Regions from separate parts of the Homo sapiens genome. Here region 1 is linked to region 2. The links are contacts of gene promoters, found by promoter capture Hi-C in blood cells and fetal thymus (Javierre and others, 2016). All regions are on one chromosome and are shown on one strand. The core of a region is centred on a gene start or on the middle of the fragment in contact, and the rest is flanking DNA. Distances in the headings are between cores, read along the strand shown.

Region 1 (4,993 bases), core at 1,880-4,379, 210 kb after region 2:
CGTGATCCCAGCTCACTGCTGCATCAAACTCCTGGGCTGAAGCAATCCCTCCACCTCAGCCTCCCGAGTAACTGGGACTACAGGTACGTGCCACCATGCCTGGCTAATTTTATTTTTATTTTTTGTAGAGACAGGGGTCTTGCTGTTGCCCAGGCTGGTCTCGAACTCTTGGCCCCAAGTGATCCTACTGCCTCAGCCTCCCAAAGTGCTGGGATGACACATGTGAGCCACCACATCCAGCCCATCAGATAGTTACTAAATGAAAGATAGTTCCTGAGCCATGCAGTGAGGGGAGAAGGTGGCAGAAGGCTGCCCACTGGGGGACACAGCGAAGATATTCTGCTAACCACAGGCGGCTCTGCCAGGTTCACATGCAGACTCCAAGGAAGCATCCTCTCATGAGATCGCAGTTCCACTTGCATGACCTTTCATAGGGGAATTTACCACGGAAAAGGGTATTTACTTGGCTAGTCCTATTGAACAATAGGCAACTGAGCTTCACTCCCTACCTTCTAACACCATGAGGAACGTGAGCAAATGGAACAACAGATCCACTCACTCCTGAAATGATCCAGACACATGTTGGGCCAAATCATGTCTAACCATGAACTTGTGTGCAATGGAAACACGACACAGAGGGCCCAAGGCTCCTCAGCCTGCCTTCACAAGAACAAGCTCACTTAACAAATATAATTCTCCCACCCAGCTCTATATAACATAATAATTTCCAAATTTGGGGAAGCTTCTCACACTGCCTACCCAGGGGAATGAACCAAATCATCAAGGGAGAAAACCAGACAAGAAATGCTTCCAGAGGTCCCAGGTGAAGATGTCACACTGGGAACAGACAGCCATCTCTCTGACCTCTTGTGAACTGCAGGCATAATAGGCATGAAGAGAAAAACCCCAGACAGTGAAAATGGGGGAAGAGGGAGGCCAGGAACAGATGAGATGTCAACAAATCTGCAGAAGACAAAAGGAGGAGGGGCACAGGAGACAAATCCTATAGGGTAGGAGACATCCAGAAGCCACAGCTACATAGGCTCCAGTTGGGAGTCGGCAGGTATGCAGAGCAGGAGCAAGGCCAGGGGCACATGTGGGAACTGCTGTGGCCCTGGACGCCCCACTGAAAGGGACAGGAATCCCTCTGTTTGCTACAGAAGAATGGAGGACCTTGCTCCAAAGACACTGACCAGCAGTCTGAGGACCTAGTGTGGATGCCTGTGTGTCAAGTGAAGTCCTACTCACTCAAGCATTAGGATGCCAAGACCCTATGTCCTATAAAGCAAAGCTGACTGGTCAATCCACTCAGCTGTCGGTGGTGGTGGGACGAGCAGGTTTCAGACACACAGTAGACAAACCCATCAATACGGTCCCACACTCAAGAGAATGGGAGAAAAATATTTTTGTATTAAAAAAAAAAAAAAGACCGGGCATGGTGGCTCACACCTGTAATCTCAGCACTTTAGGAGGCCGAGGCAGGCAGATCACCTAAGGTTGACAGTTCGAGACCAGCCTGACCAACATGGAGAAACCCCGTCTCTACCAAAAATACAAAATTAGCCAGGCGTGGTGTTGTATGCCTGTAACCCCAGCTACTCCGGAGGCTGAGGCAGGAGAATCGCTTGAACCTGGGAGGCAGAGGTTGCGGTGAGCCGAGACTGCACCATTGCAACAGGAGCCTGAGCAACAGGAGTGAAATTCTGTCTCAAAAAAAAAAAAAAAAAAAACTAGAGAACTGAAGACTGCATCTTGTGAGAAAAAACAGGCAGATGAAAACAAGTTAAAAAAAAATACAGAGCTAATTTGGAAAAAAGATATCCAAAAATATTTCTATTTTATGTCTTCACAGAGATCTGAGAAGACACTATATCCATATAACCAGAATAAAATATGAAAATAGAACAATTAGGCCAAAAAGAAAGAACACAAGAATTTAAAATACAGTAGCTAAAATTAAACTTCAATAAAGAGGCTGGAAGATAAAGTCAAAGAAATCAAGGTAGAAACACAGATCAATTCAGGCAATCAATTTGGCATTCCAGAAATTATGACAGTAATAAGATAATTTTCCAGAGCCAAAGGAAAATATGCCTCCAGATTGAAAAGTCCCACCAAGAGCTAAGCAGAATGAATGAAAGACTCATGAAATTTTATGACACTGGGTGTTTTTAAAAAGGTCCTGAAAGTTCCAAGGAGGAGAAAAAGCTTACTCACAAAGAGATGGAATAGACTTCCAGAATCAATTACACAGAGTGTAAGAAGATATCCCTTTCAATCCTAACAAGGGAAAATTATTTTTAAGCTAGAATTCTACATACACCCAAACTGAGAAATAAGTGAAAAGTTAAAATAAATGCATTTTAAGATATACAACAATTCTACATTATATATCACTTTGAGAAAAACAAAATGAGGATGAAAACTGAAAAAGAGGAATATCCAACTCAAGTCCAAAAACTGCATTTAATCTATAAACGCAGGAAGAAAATACCAGGAGTGTAGCTATACAGCAGAACAGGAAATAACCAGTCTAGAGTGGAGTTCAGGCAGAAAGAGATTTCTAGACAATACTCAGTATTAATGAATCTGGGTAATTCTGAGGTTATGATGAAGTATACTATTTTTGATAACAAGATAAAAAAGAAGGGCAGCAAGAACCCTCAGGAAAACAAAAAAGATTTAAGAGATTCCTGATCCAAAGGATGTCAGTGAAAATGGTGGTTACTACAGGCCTCCAAAAAGCTCTCCTCCATAAAAGCAACCAAAAAGTTGGCAAAAATTGTCAGTATCAACTTCTTATGGATTTTGGAAACTAACCAAAGGTTTGCAGGAACCCAGGGAGCATTAATTCAAGGAAAACAACCACATCTCAGTAAGAACAGTGAGCTCTGTGATATTTTAATTTGGCCTAGACCCATCCCCACTCTCCAGGCTCTCAGCAGGCCGCATTCCTGGTACAGCGTAGCAGCCATCGCTGGAGAAAACAGTGCTCTTAGAGCTCTTTCAAAGCTTCATTCTCAAAGAACTGTCATCATTTGACCTGTCTGATGGTTCCCTGTAAGACCTCATTTGCAAGACTGACTGACTGTTTCTGGCTAAACTCAGAAAAGCCTTCCTCCCAACCCAGGAGTGTCTGTTGAAAATACGGCAAGTGTTTTAACTTTGCAGCCTCCTGAGGTGGCAGATAACAACTGAGGCAAACCAAAGGCAAAGGTGGGAAATAAAATGTCCGTGGGGGCTTTGAAAAGCTTTGACATTTTCCCAGGAATCTAGAAAGACACATGAATGTACAGAGCTTCACTGCACACTCAGGAAAAACCTAAGAAGGCCTTAAGCTCTCACCTCTGGCTGACTTTGACTCAACATCAGCAGGAAATAAAGGCTAAGGCAGTTTTTAACTGTTAGGCCAAGCAATGAAGGTATGCTCCAACAGGTAGATGAAGCCCCTCGACAAAAACAGGTGTTTACTGATCCCAGGAGTTTAAGGAAATCGCCATCTAATAATTACTTGGCCACTAAGTTCACCAAGTACAGATTTCACTGGTCAGACACAATAAAGAATACAAACTTTACAGAATTAGTTCAGAAAAGTCATTAAACAAGAACAACTATATCACGTACCAATAGCAACCATGGGAAGAAAGGAGCATCTGATTTCCTGAGTCACCCCATTGTGTTATTTAAAAATCCATTTCTCAATAACAGCAAAAAAAAAAAAATTAGACAAAGAAACAACAAAGTATGGCCCATACATAGGAAAAAGAAAGCAATCAATAAAATCTGTCCCTGAGGAAGCCCACATATGAAGAACTTAGCAGAAAACAGTCTCTAAATCACCTATTTTAAATATGCTCAAAGAGCTAAGAAAACTATGCAAAAATTACTAAAGGAAAGTATGGGAATAACGTCTTTTAAGTAGAGAATATCAATAAATATCAGTATCACTATTGATACTGATAACGAGATAGAAATTATTATTACCATTTTTTTAAGAATCAAATACAAATTCTGGAGTTCAAAAGTAAAAGGGGGAAAAGATAAGCGTTCATGAAAGGGGCTCAAAACCACTTTTTAGCATTTAGAAGAAAGAACAAGCAAACTTGAAGACAGGTCAATTGAGATTACCCAAACTGCGAAACAGGAGGAAAAAACAGTGAAGAAAAATAAACAGAGTCACAGAACCTGAGGGACACTATTAAGCATACCAACATACAGAAGAGAAAAGAAGAAAGAATATTTGAAAGAATAATGGCTAAAAACTTTCCAAATTTGACATGAAAAAAATTACACCCAAGAAGCTCAATGAATTCCAAGTAAAATAAACTAAAAGGGAGCCAGCCTCACCTAGATGTCATAATCAAACTGTCAAAAAAGCCAAGTCAATAATGAAGGAACAGAACAAAAACAAGGAATAAAATCTTCAGAACTTACTATAAAGCTACAGTAATCAAAACAGTGTGGTACTGGCATAAGGACAGGCATCTATACAGATCAATGGAACAGAATTAAAAGTCTAAAAACAGCCAGGCACAGTGGCTCACGCCTGTAATCCCAGCACTTTGGGAGGCCGAGGTGGGTGGATCACGAGGTCAGAAGATCAAGACCATCCTGGCTAACATGGTGAAACCCCGTCTCTACTAAAAATACAAAAAAAATTATCCGGGTGTGGTGGCGGGTGCCTGTAGTCCCAGCTACTTGGGAGGCTGAGGCAGGAGAATGGTGTGAACCCAGGAGGTGGAGCTTGCAGTGAGTGGAGATCCTGCCACTGCACTCCAGCCTGGGGGACAGAGCAAGACTCTGTCTCAAAAAAAAAAAAGTCTAGTAACAGGCCAGGCATGGTGGCTCACACCTGTAATCCCAGCACTCTGGGAGGCCGAGGCAGGCAGATCATGAGGTCAAGAGATCGACATTATCCTGGCCAACAGGGGGTAACCATATTTCTACTAAAAATACACAAGTTAGCTAGGTATGGTGGTGCGTGCCTGTAGTT
Region 2 (5,205 bases), core at 2,190-4,689:
TTAAAGAAACTGGTAACTAACAGAAATCTTGAGCTTGTCTTGCAGGGCAGCCGATAAGGAAACAGTTTGCTATAATCCCCTCTGCTTATACAACTTGCTGGAACAGGTTGGAACCAATATGGCTGACTGGAGCCTGTGCAAAATAGACTTACTAGCCCGAGGAGCGGCCCTTTGATGTCACAGCCCAAATTCCCACAGCTTGTTTTATACCACCTCCTGAATCTGCATGTGACCCTTGAAGCAGCATGAAGAAGCAACAGCTCATGACCAAGAGATTTTCTAAACACTTCTTCGTTTCAGCCAATCACCGTCCAGCCCGAAACTCCACTTCCAAAATCTCTCCCTTAAATCTACTGCTGCGAAGCAAGTATTGGGAGACAGATTTGAGCCCGTCTTCTGTCCCCTTGCAAGGCTGCTTGGCAATACATCTTTCTTGCTACAAAAATCCAATGCTTGGGTGTTTGGTTTTATGTTGTGCGCAGGCAAATGCAGCCGGTTTAGTTTGGTAACACGTGATGTCACTTAATACACAAGAAACGGGCAAGATATGGCATCCTCAGGGAGCTGTGCCTCACTCATTCCTATCCATAGACTTGCCTTCTTTCAACAACGCAAGCAAAAAGAAGGGTTCATTTGGGTTGGTTCCAAGTCTTTGCTATTGTGAACAGTGCCACAATAAACATACGTGTGCATGTGTCCTTATAGCAGCATGATTTATAATCCTTTGGGTATATACCTAGTAATGGGATGGCTGGGTCAAATGGTATTTCCAGTTCTAGATCCCTGAGGAATCGCCACACTGACTTCCACAATGGTTGAACTAGTTTACAGTCCCACGAACAGTGTAAAAGTGTTCCTATTTCTCCACATCCTCTCCAGCACCTGTTGTTTCCTGACTTTTTAATGATCACCATTCTAACTGGTGTGAGATGGTATCTCATTGTGGTTTTGATTTGCATTTCTCTGATGGCCAGTGATGATGAGCATTTTTTCATGTGTTTTTTGGCTACATAAATGTCTTCTTTTGAGAAGTGTCTGTTCATATCCTTCGCCCATTTGTTGATGGGGTTGTTTGTTTTTTTCTTGTAAATTTGTTTGAGTTCATTGTAGATTCTGGATATTAGCCCTTTGTCAGATGAGTAGGTTGCAAAAATTTTCTCCCATTCTGTAGGTTGCCTGTTCACTCTGATGGTAGTTTCTTTTGCTGTGCAGAAGCTCTTTAGTTTAATTAGATCCCATTTGTCAATTTTGGCTTTTGTTGCCATTGCTTTTGGTGTTTTAGACATGAAGTCCTTGCCCATGCCTATGTCCTGAATGGTATTGCCTAGGTTTTCTTCTAGGGTTTTTATGGTTTTAGGTCTAACATGTAAGTCTTTAATCCATCTTGAATTAATTTTTGTATAAGGTGTAAGGAAGGGATCCAGTTTCAGCTTTCTACATATGGCTAGCCAGTTTTCCCAGCACCATTTATTAAATAGGGAATCCTTTCCCCATTGCTTGTTTTTGTCAGGTTTGTCAAAGATCAGATGCTTGTAGATATGCGGCATTATTTCTGAGGGCTCTGTTCTGTTCCATTGCTCTATATCTCTGTTTTGGTACCAGTAGCATGCTGTTTTGGTTACTGTAGCCTTGTAGTATAGTTAGAAGTCAGGTAGTGTGATGCCTCCAGCTTTGTTCTTTTGGCTTAGGATTGACTTGGCAATGCGGGCTCTTTTTTGGTTCCATATGAACTTTAGTTTTTTCCAATTCTGTGAAGAAAGTCATTGGTAGCTTGATAGGGATGGCATTGAATCTATAAATTACCTTGGGCAGTATGGCCATTTTCACGATACTGATTCTTCCTACCCATGAGCATGGAATGTTCTTCCATTTGTTTGTATCCTCTTTTATTTCATTGAGCAGTCGTTTGTAGTTCTCCTTGAAGAGGTCCTTCACATCCCTTGTAAGTTGGATTCCTAGGTATTTTATTCTCTTTGAAGCAATTGTGAATGGGAGTTCACTCATGATTTGGCTCTCTGTCTGTTATTGGTGTATAAGACTGCTTGTGATTTTTGCACATTGATTTTGTATCCTGAGACTTTGCTGAAGTTGCTTATCAGCTTAAGGAGATTTTGGGCTGAGACGATGGGGTTTTCTAGATATACAATCATGTCATCTGCAAACAGGGACAATTTGACTTCCTCTTTTCTTAATTGAATACCCTTTATTTCCTTCTCCTACCTGATTGCCCTGGCCAGAACTTCCAACACTATGTTGAAAAGGAGTGGTGAGAGAGGGCATCCCAGTCTTGTGCCAGTTTTCAAAGGGAATGCTTCCAGTTTTTGTCCATTCAGTATGATATTGGCTGTGGGTTTGTCATAGATAGCTCTTATTATTTTGAGATACGTCCCATCAATACCTAATTTATTGAGAGTTTTTAGCATGAGGGTTGTTGAATTTTGTCAAAGGCCTTTTCTGCATCTATTGAGATAATCATGTGGTTTTTGTCTTTGGTTCTGTTTATATGCTGGATTACGTTTACTGATTTTCGTATGTTGAACCAGCCTTGCATCCCAGGGATGAAGCCCACTTGATCATGGTGGATAAGCTTTTTGATGTGTTGCTGGATTCGGTTTGCCAGTATTTTACTGAGGATTTTTGCTTCAATGTTCATCAAGGATATTGGTCTAAAATTCTTTTTTTGTTGTGTCTCTCTCTGCCACCCTTTGGTATCAGGATGATGCTGGCCTCATAAAATGAGTTAGGGAGGATTCTCTCTTTTTCTTTTGATTGGAATAGTTTCAGAAGGAATGGTACAAGCTCCTCCTAAAATGTGGCACATATACACCATGGAATACTATGCAGCCATAAAAAATGATGAGTTCATGTCCTTTGTAGGGACATGGATGAAGCTGGAAACCATCATTCTCAGCAAACTATTGCAAGGACAAAAAACCAAACACCGCATGTTCTCACTCATAGGTGGGAATTGAACAATAAGAACACATGGACACAGGAAGGCGAACATCACACACCGGGGACTGTTGTGGGGTGGGGGGAGGGGGGAGGGATAGCATTAGGAGATATACTTAATGCTAAATGACGAGTTAATGGGTGCAGCACACCAACATGGCACATGTATACATATGTAACAAACCTGCACGTTGTGCACATGTACCCTAAAACTTAAAGTATAATAATAAAAAAAATGCTTACTTTAAAAAAAGAAAGAAAAGAAAAAAAAAAAAAAGAAGGGTTCAGGCCGCTGTGGGAGGCCCAGCACCACCCAGCACAAGACAGTACGGTATCCCGCCGCGCGCCCGACTCCACCTGGCGAGCAGGGAGGGGCCAAGCTTACGCGAGGCGTGGCATCCCGCCCCTCGCTGCATTGTACTTCCGGGCTCACATTTCTGCATCCGGAGTATGAGAACCCTCAACCAGGCTGACCGGATCCGGAAGTGGATTGCGAGCCAGGAGGAGGAAGCCGGCGGTGGCCCCGTCAGCAGCCGGCTGCTGAGAGGCCGGTAGGCGGCGGCGGTCCCGAGGGGCGGCGGCCGCGCTGCTCCCTGAGAACGGGTCCCGCAGCTGGGCAGGCGGGCGGCCTGAGGGCGCGGAGCCATGAAGCTGTACAGCCTCAGCGTCCTCTACAAAGGCGAGGCCAAGGTGGTGCTGCTCAAAGCCGCATACGATGTGTCTTCCTTCAGCTTTTTCCAGAGATCCAGGTGAGCGGCACAGGCTGGTGGGCCGTGGCGGTCGGGCGGAGAGGACTGGGGTGGGGGTCCGAGTCGGAGTGGGCCTGGGGTCGGCGGAGGGATGAGGGGAGGGTGGAGGAGGCCAAGGGTAGGGGCAGGGCGGGGTGGCCGAGTGCCCGGGGTCTGAGAAGGCTGGTGTCCGAGTCAGAGGCGGGGCGGGGTGGGGAGGGCCCGGGGTCTGCTGTCCGGGCTTGGTCTCCTATAATGGAATCTGGCCGTGGACTCTACCTTTGAGGAACCAACATTAGCTCTTTAAGAGCTTATACCATTCTAGAATATAGTTCTCTACTCAGTGTTTTTCAAATTTCTGTCGTGTAAAAATTTTAAGGAGACTGTGAAGTAGTGCAGATTTCCAAGCTTCATGCCAAGATGTTCTGAATTAGTAGATTGAGGCCTCGGTATTTATATTTTAGACCAACACTTCCCACCCAGTGATTCTGACTCTGGGAGCTTGGGTGCCGCATCTTGAGAGCCATATTTTGATTTTCTTGCGGGGCTTCCCAACAATTCTGTATGAGAGATAGTGATATACTTTTTTTTGTTTGTTTTTAATGGGTGAAGTCACTGAGGTACCAAGAGGTTATATCACAACCAGCTAGAACTGAAAGCCAGGTTTAACGCTTTTTAGTTGGACACTAGTGGTACAAAAGGATTCCACACGGAAGATGCAAATGAAGCATGGGATCTGTAGGGCTTACAGGCTTTTACTTGTTTCTGGGGCGCTTTAATTGCTGGAACGTGTTAGAAGTAACACAGACACTTCCAGACCATTCGTGGGAGGGATTGGGGTGACTCAGGCACGAAAGAAGGAGGACCCTACATGGTCGGTATCTATGGTCATCTTGTCTCAAAATCTGATGGAATCTGCCGTTTGGATTCTGTTTTCCCTGCTTCAGTGCAGCTGGTTCTTGATGAGAGTTCTTTGCCAAGGACTTGCTGGATGTAAAAAAAAAAAAATGTTATTTTGTTGAAACTTTCTGCTTCTTTGAGTTCTTTTAAAAAAATATTTTTAATTGTGGTAAAATGGTACACAAAATTTATCTTCACTATCTTTAAGCGTGTAGTGAGTGCATTGATATGAAATAGATTGATAGTGTTGTGCAGCCATCACTGTCAATCGTCTCCAGAACTCCTTTTTATCAAATTCGTGTCTATTAAACACATTCCCTTCTCCCCCAGCCCATGGCAACTGCCATTCTAATTTGTCTCTGTGATTTTGACTTTTCTGGCGACCTTAGATAAATGGAATCATATAGTTTTTGTGTGTCTGGCTTATTTCATGTAGCATAATGTCCTCAAGGCTCATGCATCTTGTTGCATATATCAGAATTTCTTTCCTTTTTAAGGCTGAATAATCCATTGTATTATTCACCACATTTTGCTTATCTGTTCATCTGTCAGTGGACACCTGGGTTGCTTCCACATTTCAGCCATTGTGAATGATACTGCTATGAACATGGATGTACAAATATCT

What was found. Contacts are between HindIII fragments. The CHiCAGO score rates a contact against its expected background, and 5 or more counts as called.
Region 1: a contact is called between a fragment that was not itself captured here and the fragment with the promoter of YKT6 in region 2, in 1 of 17 cell types (M1 macrophages). The highest score is 5.0, in M1 macrophages.

What each region holds. Positions count from the first base shown.
Region 1 is chr7:44,405,857-44,410,849 of GRCh38, forward strand. The region is part of intron 3 of NUDCD3 (NudC domain containing 3); the gene reads right to left. Among named protein-coding and RNA genes, the nearest start is that of NUDCD3, 82 kb to the right of the region's middle. The HindIII fragment of the contact is 239 bases long and covers 3,011-3,249 here.
Region 2 is chr7:44,197,539-44,202,743 of GRCh38, forward strand. It overlaps YKT6 (YKT6 vesicular SNARE protein), which reads left to right and starts at 3,440. Exons shown (of 7, transcript NM_006555.4): 1 at 3,440-3,701. The coding sequence starts at 3,598. RefSeq lists a silencer at 3,547-3,616. The HindIII fragment of the contact is 756 bases long and covers 3,331-4,086 here.